Linked DNA regions of Homo sapiens: region 2 is linked to region 1. The links are contacts of gene promoters, found by promoter capture Hi-C in human tissues and cell types (Jung and others, 2019). All regions are on one chromosome and are shown on one strand. The core of a region is centred on a gene start or on the middle of the fragment in contact, and the rest is flanking DNA. Distances in the headings are between cores, read along the strand shown. Region 1 holds the start of KITLG (KIT ligand). Region 2 has its middle 36 kb from the start of KITLG.

Region 1 (7,681 bases), core at 3,533-6,032:
ACTAAGACCAAGAACAGTGTGTAAGACCAAGAACAGTTTCTTGCAGCTGCTCATGATTTATGTGCTAGAAAGAAAGATAAAAGATCACTCTTCAGAGATTTATATCCAAATGCCTTGCCCTAATTTACAAAAGGGAATAAAATTTACAAAAGGGAATAAAAATAATTTACAAAAGGGAACATTAAGATAATCCAGAAAAGAAAAATAAAAGTCTCAAACTAGCATAATGAAAAAAAAATGTCACTGCACGTTGCCTGGTAAAGACAACAAAGACACCCCACAGAAATGAATGCATGGCCTCACTCAGAAAAGCAAGTGCGAGAACATTAGGGATGGGAAACTAACCAAGTCTCTTTAGTCCAAAATAAAATAAAATAAAATGAAATAATTCCTTAGAATCATACAAGGAGAACTTAGCAAGAGTGTAGAAATATGAAACTGAGTCAGCGATAAAGATAATATTTCCATTTTCCATTTCTATTTTCTATTCTAATTATCTCATTCATTTGTACTTTAAAAGAAAAACCTTCAAAAACGTAGCACCTCTTAAGCCCACATATCACCTTTGTCTTCACATATTCCTGGATTGATGTGTCTTAATTATAGTCTATAAACAGATATTAGCCTATCATGGGAGTCACCAAATCGACAGACGTAGATTTAGGAAAACTTGGTCTCTGTGCTTGGTTCATTAGGCATAATTTACCTGCAATAAGTCAGTTTTTCTCTGGCTTGTAAAAGTAGGCCAGCAGGCACTCTCTTCTCAGGAACAATAAATTCAAACTGTACATATAGTAAGCTACTATGCTGGTATAAAGACACATATAAAATTTCATTTAGTCCTTAAAACCACCATGCGAGAAAAATCTTTATAACTTTTATAATCATCATACAGATTACAAAAAACAGAAATCCCAAAAAGTTTAACAAATATTTGCCTAAGGTCATTTGTCTCATGAGTAGTAAAACAGGAATTAGAATCTAAGTCTTCAGAAGCTAGAACCTAGAATCCTTCTACCAACCATATTTTAGGTGTTTCTCATATATGCTCAGATATGGTTTATTCTCAGATATAAAGCGAAGGCCACATGTAGTGGAATTTGCCAATCCATGTAAAAAACCTCCAATACCCACACTTGCTATTTGAGTGAGAAATTTTTATGTGATTTATGGTGATGGAAACATTTCAGTCACCTATTATTAAAAAAAAAATGTGACCCAGAATTTGCTATCTTCAAATCAGCAGTTAGACGTAAATAAAATTTAGCAATTTTAATTGGTTTGGCCCAGACTTTCAGATTTCCATATGGTTATTTTCCTTGTTTTATGTTAAATGTAATCAACTTAGCACTTGGGTTTTAAAGTCTTGGCAGAATGTATCAATTAAAAGCTACATAAATTGGAATTATTCAAAGCATACATTCCAAATTGAGTGATCTTAAGGACAAGACTAAAAAAATGCTCTTTTCATAAGTATGTTAATTTTCTTCTACAAAGTAAACTTGCATCATCACCCACATGACAAACTTCATACAGACATAAAAGAGATATTTTCTTTGGAGTAGTGAAAATTAGCATTCTATTTGCTTATTCTCTGAGAGTTAGTATGCCTAAAATGGCCTTTTTTACATTGTTTGCAAGATCAATCTTTCTTATCTCAGTATTTCTGAAATTGACAGGAGTTATGACACTTCTCACAAACCATCCCCAAACTAAAATGTAAGCACAACATTGATAAATGTAACACCAGGCACATTAAGCTAATGGCACTTTTAACCAAATCTTAATCAGTGTTGCAAAATATGGTGCCTTGATTGTTATCCAATATGGTGTATCAGAATATTATGTTTAAAAAATAGTTACACATTGAAAGAGATGTTTTTTCTAAGCCCAAGCCACAAACACCTCTAGAAAACTGTAAAACCACACAATCTGAATAAAATAAAATCAAACAGAAATCTGAAAAATTCAAAAGACATTCATTTCTGTAGAACTGTGCTTAAATTTATTGCCTGTGTCATTATATTGGAAATACTGAAGTGTACCAACATGCTAAATGAATGAATCATTCATCAAACCCCAAGTGGTTGTTGATGGAATTTTCACACTTACTTAGCTTGACGGAAAGGCCAGAATACCTGGAGTCCCCATGATTCTTGGAGAGCTGTGTAATTCAAATCAAACCCCATTTTAAAATATTACTATAAATTTTTTTTATATGTGGGGTAGTAGGAGAGTACAGAACAAGTTGCTTTATAATAGAACCATGGTATTGATGCCATGTTTATAAATGACTATTTAAACTACTAAATATTAATAGATATTCTTCCCTGGTGAGGATAACATTAGAATCAGAACAATCGATCCTATTTCTTAATGTCCAATTTACATAGGCTACCTTCCATCCATGCAGCATTGCACAGAAAATGTCTTTGTAATTTTTGGATTAGAAAATTTAACAATATGAAAGATCTAATCCCCTCCTCCATTTCTGCAGATTATTTTATTGATTTTGGGCTATTTCCAGTGTCCCCTTTTTCAGTGACTGTGGAATCGCTAGAAGTATTCTTAAAAAAAACCTTGAAGGTCATTAGATCCTAGGCAATGAATGCCTTCATTCAACAAGGGTACTGCCCTCCTTTGCCTACAAGCCGTTTAACATCAGCAAGTTCCCCCAAAGGGCCTGCACTTTAACTTGTGTGATGTGTGACCGAACAGGTCACATATCTAAAATACTTAGCTTTCTCAAATTTCTCTGGTCGGCAGCACTGAGTCACTAATGCCACAGTCACAATGTTTCAGACTAGATTGACCTCTTTCTAGTTTTCAATGGAATTATTCCATGTAATCCGATTTACACAGCCATTTAATCAAAGCGAGAAAGGAGATTACAGAGCTCACATTTGTTTTGCAAAGCAAGGGTGCAAGGATAATCAATCCTACTGCCTCTCAAAGTGACTTGATAGTACATCCCCTGGCTTTGGAGTGTTGGACATTAACCTTATCTGTCTCCTGTGTTCTTGTTTAAATAGGAAGGTTTAGGCTCTTTTCCTGAACTAGAAGGTAGCAGCTTCTTCCCCCAGATCTCACCACCATCCATGGGAGCAGATGCTACTATAAGAAGGAATAGGTCTCTACCCTTCTTATAATTTCGCAGAAAGCTTGTCTAAATCAAGAGATTACAATAAAACTTTTCTTTTGTTGCAAGAATCTTTAACATTTGCATTTCGACAGCACGCTGTGGTGATTCCAGGTGCGGTGCTCAATGCCTTGCCTGAAAGCTAACCTGCTTGTAAGAGAGGGGAGAGGCACATCGCGTCTTTTCTCTTAGAGAGTGCTCTAGAGACTATGCAAGCCTCTTTTAGCCAGGCAATGTCCCTTTCCCCTGCCTTTTACCACACCGGTACAAGGGGCTAGAGTCTTGCAACTTTTTGCAGGCCTAGATATCTGTTTAAAATATGATGCTAAGCAGGTCATTTGATAAAGCATTTTGAGCACATTGATGCCTTCATTCTACACCAACGATGTGTACAAACACCCCGGTTTCCTTTTTCCCCACCACTTCCACCCCTTCCACACATTTCAGGAACTGCAATCTCCAACAGAACCTCTGGGGGGTGAAAGGGCAACCCTTAGCCAACCGCGGCAGATAACACATAACAATTTCTAAGGGGGAAAGTGAGAGGAGGTAACAATCAACAATGGTGAAGAGAACTGTGGATAGGGGCACCGTGGCGGCCCTTTCTAAACGAAGAACCAGGTATTTTCTTCAAGGGAAAAAAAAATCTAATTGTCCCCCCAGGCAGCGCTTTACCCACAGTGCTTTATGTATAATGCAGAATTTAGCAGCACTGGGAATTATCTCAATCACTATCATTCAGAGGTGCCTATTTTATAAAAAGCCTTTATCCCTTTTGAAATGGAAAAAGGTGCGTGCATTGTGGAGGTACTAGAGCTCTTTAGAGCCCACACAGAGCTGCAAACTAGGCAGACACCGCCGAGAGCCAAGTTTCCCGGGCAGGCGGGCAGGTTCCCGCCCCGCCGAGAGCTGCCGCTTAGGAGTTCCGCGTTGGCTTCGCTCCCGCGGCTGCACCCGCGTTCGCGCCGCTCCTGGTGCCCGGCGCCCACCTCGGGGCTACACAAATAAATCTGAGTGAGAGAGCTAGTGAGGGTGGCGCGTGGGGTGCTGTTTCATAATCTCCTGGAATCCACGGGAAAACCGTCTCCTATGCAAAGACATGCCTTCCCGTGATAACTTAACATTCCATGGCCCAAAAGCCAATCTTTCCACCAGACGGGAATTACGGTTTCCGACTGACAGCTCAAAACTTAACTGCTGAGGCTCCAAACTTGACACTGGCTCCCTCTCAGCACTCCCACTCCTTTTCTCCCTGGCTCACCCGGCTCGGCTCGGGATCACACACCACGCCGGCCTCCCCCGCATCCTCTTGTCTCACCCGGCAGGCACAGCCCTGCACGCCCCAGCTGCAAGTCCCAGGGAGCGCCGGCTTCCCCGGGGCACCGGGCGCGATTTTTCCTGGAGAGCCTGGGAGCTCCCGGGCGCGCCCTACTCACTTGTGTCTTCTTCATAAGGAAAGGCAGCGCTGCGATCCAGCACAAACAGTGGTGTGGCGACTCCGTTTAGCTGTTCTGGAGCTCCAGCATATTGCACGAACAGCGGCGGCAGATAGTCCACGCATTGGGTAGCCCGAGCGCAGCGCCCTCTCCACTGTCCCTGCTTCCCGCAGCGCTTCTAGTCTCGGCGCGAGGCGGCGAGCGAAGCCCGGCTGCTGAGCCGCCGGCGCTTTTATACAGTTCCCGCCCGCCTGCTCCGGACACGCCTCCTTCCCTTCCGGAGCCCGGGGTAGGCGAGAAGCAGGCAAGGGCGCGGAGGGAAGAATCGGGAGGGCGGCCAGAGCACGGTAAATGCCCCAGAAGTTTGGCAGATTAGGCCAACCTTGTCCGCTCGCCTGGGGGCCCCGGACCTGCACTGGCGGGAGACCGCGAAGGCGCGGGGACGCAGAGGGCGAAGCTTGGTACCCTGCAGCTACTGCTCGCGAGGAGTCCCAGCTTACCCTCCCGGATCCGCTGGGGCTCACCTGGCACCCCCGGGGACAGACGAAATACCTCGCGCGCCAGAGAGGGCTCGGAGCTCCCTCTGTTATACAAAGTCGGAGAGGGAGAGGAGTCCGGGAGGTTCGGAGCAAAGAATTCACCCTGCCTGCCTTAGAGAAATAAAGTTTAATTGCGATCTGTAGTTAGGCCATTGTCCTATCACCTCTATTTTTTAAAAAAAACAATTACTTTAGTGAATGAATATTTAATAATTACAAGAATTGTTGACTCAAGGTTAAGTATTGCAAGGGGAGACGCTTCATTTGGAATGGTTTGTTACTGTGTCTTTAGAAATTAAGATTGAAAGAGAAGCGATAGATTATTAAACTACAGGTCGCCAACACAGCAAGGCTTTGAAAGTTGTACTTTTTTGAACGGAAAGATAATGCAACCACAATAATAATAGCTAACATCATTATGTGATGCACTTATTCATGTGCCAGGTGCCAGACTAAGAACTTCGCATAGATTATCTCATTAAATTCTTTCATCAAATCTATTAGTGTAGATCTTATTATTTTATTCCCATTTTATGGACGATGAAATACAAGGTTAATTTTCTTGACCAACCATATCTAGTAAATGGCAGAGCTCTAATTTAAACCTGGAGCTCCAGCTGTACAGTCTTAAAAAATACTTCAAATATTTTATTGATTCTCCAGAATGTGTCTGTTTTTGTTTGTATAACTGGAGAACATTCCAAAGCATTTCATTAATTTTTTAAAAGAAAATATTAGCTGAACATTAACATCAGTGATCTTTAAAAGAAAGAATAATGTATGAGTTTAGGAATTAGTTATTTTAATAATAGAGTAGGAGTCCAAATTTGCTTTAATTAGTTCCGGTGCGTTTGTTAAACATGAATATGCCAAACCTGTAATCAGGGCGAAGCTTGTTTATTTCACTCCAGATGTGCTGACTTCTGTGATTTCCCCAAATGTGGGAAACTCGACTGCATAATTTAGTGGGGGACTGCGTTCTCACTTTCTCATGTTAGAAAAAATATGTATAGACAGCACATCAATCATGATTCCAAGTTGATAGTTGCTTAGAAAGATTTTTATACATTAGGTACTCTTAGTACAAATATATCGAACATCAAATATCAAAATGAGCTTAATTTGGATACTGGAGGCATAGCAAATGATTGTTTTTTTTTTCTTCAAGATTTATTTTTATTTTTTATTTTTTAGATGGAATCTCGCTCTGTCTCCCAGGCTGAAGTGCAATGACGCAATCTCGGCTCAATGCAGCCTCCGCCTCCCAGGTTTAAGCGATTATCCCGCCTCAGTCTCACAAGTAGCTGGGATTACAGGTGCCCACCACCACGCCCAGGTATTTTTGTTGTTGTTGTTGTTGTTTTAGTAGAGACGGGGTTTCACCATTTTGGCCAGGCTGGTCTCGAACTCCTGACCTCAGGTGATCCGCCTGCCTCAGCCTTCCAAAGTGCTGGGATTACAGGCGTGAGCCACTGCACCCGGCCCCTTTAAGGCTTTTTTGAAGTGGAGAATTTTATTTTTTTTCTCCAGCTTTATTAAGTTATATTTGACAAAAATAGTATCTATTTACCACGTACAATGTGATGTTCTGCTTATGTATACATTGTGAAATTATTAAATCAGGCTAAATAGTATATCCATCACCTCACATACTCATCATTTTTGGGAGCTGAGAGTATTTAACATCTACTCTTTGTAGTTTTGGAGTACCTCAGTATATTCAGGGGATTGATTCCTAGACCTTTCAGGTATACCAAAATCTACATATATTCAAGTCCCACAGTCAACCCTGCAGAACGTGCAGACACAAAAGTCAGCCCTGCTTATACATGGGTTTTACATCTCTAGAACACTGTATTTTCCATCTGAGTTTGAAAAAAAAATTGCATATAAGTAGACCCATACAGTTCAAACCTGTGTTGTTCAAGGGTTAACTGTATACAGTACATTAACTGTAGTTATCATGCTGTACAATAAATCTCCAGAACTTATTCATCCTGTCTAACTAAAACTTTGTACCCCTTTACCACCATTTTCCCCCCAAGAAAAGAAATATTTAGTGTCAATATAAACTCACTTTCATGTATAACATTAAGTAAATAACAAGTAGTACTAAAGGAGGACAGATACGACAAAAATAATCAAAATGGTATGAGAGTTACTGAAGCCTGGGAATCATAAATCTAACCATACGGATTTTATGAGACCAATAGAAAGGAATGGCCTAATTTGTTGTACCAGGTTTAAAGAAACAAGGCAGTGTTCCTAACAGAAATTCAGTTCAATTTCTTTTCATTCAACTCAATAATACATGCTACGTTCATCTCCTACAATGCATTCTCATTCTCCTCTCTCTTTCTCCCTCTTTCCATTTTTTTTCCCTCTCAGTTCTGTCTCCTCCTCCCACCTCCACCATTCCCTGGTTCTAGCTTTCTTAATATCACTGACTTTCTCATACGTAACTGTATCTTTTGTTTCCCTCATACTGCTGCATTACAGTTTTGTTGTGTAATAATGTTACTTGAATCAAGAGAATGTCGAAGCAAATATCCAAGGGATTAGAAAGA
Region 2 (7,681 bases), core at 3,023-5,522, 37 kb after region 1:
TTATTCTTAAAGACTTTTTACTCTATAGACCCAGAAATTTTGCTTGCAAAATTTGATAAGCAGAAATTCATACATTAATAGTATCTACAAAAACAAAACCCAATACCATACTCATAAATTCTGAGCCCTAACTGGTGATGGGATTTAAAAAATTAATAAATGCTTGGTGAATGATTAAAATAATAAATAATGTTAAATTTTACCTGTTTATTTAAATCTGGTTTAGTACTCAGCTCTAGAATGTTGAAAATAGTGATCAAATTTTATCAAGTTTATTTTCCACCTATACTTACATTTGGTTGGTTCCACTCCTACCTCCACTTCCTAATGATAAAGGACACAAAATCTCTCTAAAGCACCCTTCTAAAAATTCTCTGGAAACCCAAGAGGTATCTCACATGTGCTTATGTGGCAACTTTATTCATTGCTTCCTGTGGGCATTTGCCATTTCTTCCCTCTTTTATTCCAGGCTTTTTCTACTAGGAACTGTGGTGCCTGCTGGGCTTTGTCAGCTGTGCTGGATACTACTGCTGCTTTTGTCAGATTCTACCACTTAACATTGGTCAGGATATAGGATTTGTTCTTCTGATGATCCCACTCACATTAGCTTGGTGCCTTAGTCTCTTTCTGGACACCACCACGCTCTCCCACTAAATTCAGCTGTCTTCTGCTACCTAGCATGCCCTGCAATCACCTGGGTGCTGGAGTTGAATGTTATTCCTTTGCAAAGCAGGGAACCTGCTTCTCTTTTGGATTAAGCATTTCTAGAGCTGGTATCAGAGACAGAGAGAAAGACAGACAGAGAGAGAGAGAGAAAGAGAGATGGTGCAAGAGAGAACAGATATAAAAGGAAAGCACTATTTTGGTAATACCTAAAAGTATTTTTAGAAATTTTGATTTGGGTTCTCTGTTAGTCCGTTTGGGCTGCTATAACAAAATACCATAGACTGGTTGCTTATAGACAGAAATTAATTTTTCACAGATCTGGAGGCTTGGAAGTGCAAGATAAAGGTGCTGGCATATTTAGTGTCTGGTGAGGGCCTGCCTTCTGGTTCACAGATGATGCATTCTAGCTGTGTTCTCACATACTGAAAGGAGCAAAACAACTTTCTGGAGTATCTTTTATAAGGACACTAATCCCATTCATGAGGCCTCCAACCTTATGATCTAATCACCCACCAAGGCCCCATCTCCTAGTCCACCATGTTAGTGACTAGGTTTTCAACATATGAATTTTGGAGGGAACAAATGTGCAAACCATAGCATGTTCCTATGTTATAAATCCCAGGGTCTCCCCAGTAAAGTCTTCTGCACAAGACTGTCTTGGCTCTTGTTGCTGCTCCCATCTCCCCACCTGAAATGTGGGATTAGGGAAACAGAAGAATCTGGTAATTGAATTAACATGATATAGAATAGGAACAATACAGCTGTGATGCAAAATGACCCTAACATTGAACTAATTTGATGAAAAAACTAATTTGATGAAATTTGTTTATTCAATAATTATTCAATAAAGTTATTATTGAACTAATTTATGAACCATGGAAACATAAACACTGTAATTTTTTTCAGAAATCTTGAGAATGACGTAGGGCTTAAATCTATGAAGGGACTGGGCTAATGCATTCTTATCTAGTTTCTATAAAGCAAGGTGACTCTACGTGACCTCTGAATTGAATTCATCTCACAATTACCCTTCTTCTATAGTAAGGGAGTTTTGGTACTGGGAAAGCCATAGTTCCTCACTATCTTTTTCCTTAGAGCCAGTTGCATCCTAGGAGGCTACTTAGGATTTCTTATACAGAGACTTCTAGTAGGTCACCCCACTGATTCATTAAACATGTGCATACAAAACTAAATCTGACCAGGGTTAAAACTCAAGCTTAATCTGGGTCCCTTGCTACCCCTATAAATACTGTGGAATTTTTAAAAATCAGTAAATTATACGTATTTTTTTTCACCAAATGGTGTTTCCTCCTTGAAATGGTCACCTACATTGCCAAAAGAATGTTTATTAAGAAGATAACATGTTGTGTTTATTAGGGATGCTGAGGAAGAGCAATTATTTGTTAGAAATAGAATAGGGTGGCTGAAGAGCTAGTGAATGTACAATCCACTTGTAAGTTCAGGTTTACTCAGACTCTGAAACCAGATGATACTTGAGACAAGATAGATATTTATCACCATTGCTGAAGCAGCTTTTGGCAGAATATACTCTCATGCTAAGACATGGACATCAGCAGGGAAGAGTAAGTTAAAAGGAGTAGGACTAAGATCCTGCCAGACAAGGAGTCAAGTGTGTTAGATAATATATCCATGGAAATTAGATAAAGCATCAGCAAGTGAGTTTTCCATGTTGGGTCAGCAGTGGTTTTCTGGTATATGTTTAACAATGAACTCTCTTGGGCAGGAGAACAGGAGTATGGTTTGAGGAGGATGTTAGGTAAGGGTAGGAAGAGGAAGAACACCTTGATTTAAATCTTGTGCCAATTTCTCTGGTGTAAATACTCCTGCTATGACCAGTTTCAAGCTACCACAGCGAGATGAACAGGCTCACATATTTTTTGAAGTTTTAACAATCCATTCTTGTGAGCCAGTGTGAATCAGCTCCAGCACACTACAAGTACAACCACTGAGGTGCATAACTCAGGCAGGAATAATGGATCAGGGATCAGGGACTTGGTCAAAGAGACTGGGTGAGAAGTTGTATGAATTCAAGCAAAGTATCCAAGTGGTATGTTCTTGTGTCCTCCACATGAAAAAGCAAGCTATGTTACTAAAAATTGTCTGAGTCATGGCCTCTCTGTTCTATCTGTTAAAGGTTAGAACCAGTCTATGTGGAGATGGATCAGAGACAGGTAGAGGCAAGTTGGAGTATTTGCCAGAGTGGGAAACACGGGGCCTAAGAGGCACTATATGGCAGTCCTGTTTTGTTTCTACTGAGTGATATGCTGGGTTTCTGGATCATTGTCAGGGGCTTGCTTCTTCTCTTTGATCTGAAGCTTCATTCCCAAACCTGCACCTAGACAGATATAGAAGAGGTAAAGACAGTCGCTGAAGGAAAGCACTTTGTACAGCAGGGTAGTACGTTGCCTGCTTCTAACTAACTTCAAGAATGAAATAATTTGTACAGAAATAGTCTTCCAATCTTCTCTCTGTCTCTCTCTCCCTCCTCCCTGCCCCCAATAAATGTTCTGCCTTCTTTGGAGCAATCTATCATTCCAAATGACATCATTTACAAATATAATATACTATTGTAAGGATATTCTTTAGTTCACAGTCTAGAATGATAGGAAGGGAAGTGTCAGTGTTTACATTTGTGAATTTGTCATACAACCCTTGCTTTATATCATTTTATTTCCTGAAAGAAATTTAAGTTCTAAATAATAGTAAAAAAATTCCGAATTACATGATGACTGTAGCTTTCATCACTTACTAAATAAATCTCTTCAATAACTGTCCCTAGGGTGCCAATTTCTTTATAAGTCTGGCCTTTGGATACAGCTTGAGTAATGACACTTGTTTTAATAATCCCTGATAATTGATTATTAGGTAAGAGAAGCCCAGGGAAGCCCACCAGAATGTCAATGAAATAGTTGAATATGGTATTTAAAGGATCTAAATTTTGTTAGAGAATGAAACAAAACACTTCTTCATTACAATATTCCTATTTAAAAATGACTTTTGTTTGTTGTAATGCAACGTTATGTGTATAATTCTGGAAATAGTGTTTTCTAAAGCTACGCATCAGCCTGATAGCATAAAAATTGTTGGCACATTTGAAAAAATAATATACATAAAATTAATTACGTAAAAACAGGGGATTTCATGGAATTGGAACTAGTTTGTAAGTGGGCTCCATGTCTCCTGTGTAGAGAAAAAAGAGATAAATAAATAAAAAATAAAAATATTAATTTAAGAGACACCCTCCCCAAGACTACTACCCATTTATTTTCTTGTTCGAGAACTGGGCTACCTCTGCTTTTTAAGGCTACCAAGCCTTCTTCAGCCTGACTGGAGCATTCAGGTCCAAGCTTGTTCTTGATAACATGCTTTGATTTGTTCCACCCCACCTGCACTTCCTAATGATAAAGGACACAAAATCTCTCTAAAGCATCCTTCTAAAAATTCTCTGGAAACCCAAGAGGTATCTCACATGTGCTTATGTGCCAACTTTATTCATTGCTTCCTGTGGGCATTTACCATTTCTTCCCTCTTTTGTTCCAGGCTTTTTCTACTAGAAACTGTGGTGTCTGCTGGGCTTTGACAGCTGTGCTGGGTACTACTGCTGCTTTTGTCAGATTCTACCACTTAACATTGGTCAGGATATAGGATTTGTTCTTCTGATGATCCTGCTCACACTAGCTTGGTGCCTTGGTCTCTTTCTGGACACCACACTCTCTCACTAACATAACGTCTCTGAAGTTCCCCATAAGGCCCTAGGGCTGCAAGGTTTCCCTTCATTATAAAGTCCAAAGTTCTCCCAAGAGACATATGACCCATAACTGTATTCTCTTGTTGAAAACATTTCTGTCTATTCATACTTCTCATGAATCCACAGGAAATGGTGGCAAGATGAAGGGCACTTTGGGTTCCCAACCATTATATACCATTTATTCCTCCCACTGTTTTTCCTAAGGGACTGAAACAGAGGCTCAGTGTCTTACTTTCCCTGGATTTTATAGGAAGCTGTCCCTAGAGTACAGACTAGAATTATGATATCTTAAGCTCTTCCTCGACTGCTTTATTTAGAATACCCCCACCCTTAACCATGTCCCAACACGATTCCCTTTTCTGCTTGATTTTCCTCCCTAACATCCATTGTTGCCTGGGATATGATATATTCTACTTAAATATTTGTTTATTGTTTGTTTTTATCACTAGAATGTAAGCAGTAGGAGGTCGGGTTTTTATCTATCTTGCTCACTGCTCTATCCCTAACACCTAGAGCCATGTCTGGCACACAGTAGGTACTTGATAGTTACTGGATACATAAATATATGAAAGAATAAATGGACAGATTTTGGAAGATAGGGTTTAGATCTGTTACTAGGGTTCAAAAATGTGTCTTTGTAGCACCAGAGTTCTCAGTTTAGTAGGTTTTCTAGAGTGAGTAGGGTTTTGAAATGATGTGTGTTATCACAATATATTGTTATGAGCGCTTGCTAACGTGTTGGCCAGATGAGGTTAGAATGCATCCTGATAGAGGTAGATGCACAGTGGGAGCACAGAGGAAGGTCTCACTGCTTATGAGGAGGTGTGGAGAGATGATGCCAGGCATGGATTTATGGAAGAGAAACTGTTTACTTTACATTCTGAAGGAGTTTTTTTGGCAAAGAAGGACACTCCAGCTGAAGGAAATGAATGGTCAAAAGCATAGATTAGGAAGATTCCAGCATTTGAGGAATATTCTGGCATTTTGGTGCAAAATGTTTGGGATTGGAGGAGGACAGAGATTCCACATAGGGATGCCTTCTAGGGCATCCTTTGCTCCAAGTGACAATGACAAGGACTGGGATAATAGCAATGGGAGGAGAGAGGAGATGAAAGAGTAAATAAATATTTGGGAGGTGGACTTCTTAGGAGTTGATGATTGACTGATGTAAAGAGTAAGTTAAGAGGAGGAGTGAGGAACGGCAATGCCATTTCTAACGTGAAGAACTGATATACTGGTTTATCCTTAACTGATATGAGTAATACATGGGGTGGCGGGAACAGGGTTGGTGGGAAAGTGAGGAGGAAGACTTCCATTTCCTGTTAGACATGCCATGCTTGAGATACTGGTGGCTATGCAGAAGGGGGTCCTTGAGCTCAGTGCAAAAGTGGGGCTGTTGATGCAGATTTGGGTGTCATTGCTGAGAGTATAGGATTTTATCAGCTCTGTTAGATAGAGGATACAAAACAAGCATAAAAGCATCCTAGGTTTCCAGAATGGAACCCTGAGAGATGTGAATATTAAAGAGAAATCTGTAAAACAGAGGTTGAATACTCACTTTCATCAGAACCAGAGGAGAAGGAAGGGAGGAGGAATCTTTGAAGAAGGAAGAAATGGTCAACCAGCAAATGCCGCCAAAGTCAAGAGGATAAAGTTAAGCAACTAGAATTTCTTGGTAATCTTTGCAAGAGCCATTTCAGTGGAATGCTGAGGGTGAGAAAGCAGGGTGAATGCTGTACACTTTATATGAATGCATAAAAGCATCCCCCATTGTACCCTCGGCCCCACCTCTCCAACCCTTCTCATGGAAACATTCTCAGTCCTGCAGAGTTTGCAATGAGGTGAATTAATTTAGCACCTTGTGCTCAAGTGAAGACTATAATGGTATTCATGAGTTTACATGATGTGACTGTCAGCCTTTTCCTCTTCCTTTAGCATCCTCACAGGTATTTTTTATATGACTAATGAATATCACTTACTGACCAACATGTATTTGAGGAGGTGAGTAAGGTCCAGGAAGTCTTCATTTCTAAAAAGGTCAAAAGTTAATGCTGCAATTACCAGTAACAATCATGCATCTTGAAGTGCCCTTAATTTAAGTTTGATACTGTGGTGGTGAGGTCATCTTCTGTCACCTATATAATAAAAAAATGCCTTGATCCTTTCATAAACATAACTTTTCAAAAGCAAAAGGGCAAAAAAGGCACAAACACTTGTGTATGTCATTGCATATAAAAGACTGAAGGGTCCATAACCAACAGTTAGCAGGAGTAACTCTGGGTAGAGGGTGAGATTAGGGGAGGGGTGAAGGGAGAAATTCACTTTTAATGTATCTTCTTCTGCACTGTTTAATGTTTAAATTTTTAAATGGGCATATATTTAGGCATTGCTTGTGTAATTCTTTGAAAGACATGGCATCTTCTTAGGAGGGAGACTGTGTTTTCCATACTTACCCTCACCCAAAATACTACATAGAGTTTATCATGCCTCTGGTTTAAACATGATTTCTACTTGTTGATGTTAATCTTAATTATGAGCCTGTTGATGAAGGGGAAAATGTGAGAGAATAACCAAGGATAGAATAAAAATGTCTATAAATACCGGGAGCAAAATCGATGCCCTCTTCAGCAGCCAGATGCCCTTTCCACTTCCCCAGTGTTGCTCGAATCACTGGGAACTCAGTAGCAGTACAGATTCCCAGGTCCCACTCTCCCAAACAGGATTCTCTGAGGAGGAGACAAAGAAACTTGCAGGTTTTAGAGAGCCCCATTGGTAATTTTTTTTTTTTTTTGAGACAAGGTCTTGCTTTATCACCCAGGTTGGGTGCAGTGGCACAATCATAGCCCACTTTAGCTTTGAACTCCTGAGCTCAAGCAATCCTCCTGCCTCAGCCTCCTGAGCAGCTGGGACTACAGTTGCACAACACCGTGCCTGAATAAATTTTAACTTTTTTTATGGAGATGGGATCTCACTATCACTGTTGATGATTCTTTCGCACGTCAGCATTTAAGGGTCACTGGCACACGTTAAAACTTGGGAATCTGGGGGCCTGAGTTTTAGTCCTGATGCTCACCATTTATGTGGCCTTGGACAAATTGCTTATTCTTTCAGAGTCATTCCCTTTGAGGATTCTCTGAAGAACTTTTTCTCCAAATCAATCTCATTATCATATTTATATTTATGCCTGGTCCTACCAAATAAAAGGAAGCCTTCAATGAAGTTGTGTTTACTGAAGTATATATAAGT

What was found. The method cuts DNA at HindIII sites, captures the fragments that hold promoters and counts their contacts. A contact is called where the count stands out against the background at its distance.
Region 2: a fragment that was not itself captured here is called in contact with the fragment with the promoter of KITLG in region 1 in 1 of the 25 tissues and cell types used here (pancreas).

What each region holds. Positions count from the first base shown.
Region 1 is chr12:88,575,689-88,583,369 of GRCh38, forward strand. It overlaps KITLG (KIT ligand), which reads right to left and starts at 4,783. Exons shown (of 10, transcript NM_000899.5): 1 at 4,576-4,783. The coding sequence starts at 4,590. LOC105369885 (a long non-coding RNA gene) reads left to right here and starts at 4,848. Exons shown (of 4, transcript NR_188177.1): 1 at 4,848-4,922; 2 at 6,309-6,450. It also overlaps the pseudogene RNU1-117P. The HindIII fragment of the contact is 2,929 bases long and covers 4,097-7,025 here.
Region 2 is chr12:88,613,039-88,620,719 of GRCh38, forward strand. No RefSeq gene overlaps it. Among named protein-coding and RNA genes, the nearest start is that of KITLG, 36 kb to the left of the region's middle. The HindIII fragment of the contact is 3,661 bases long and covers 2,443-6,103 here.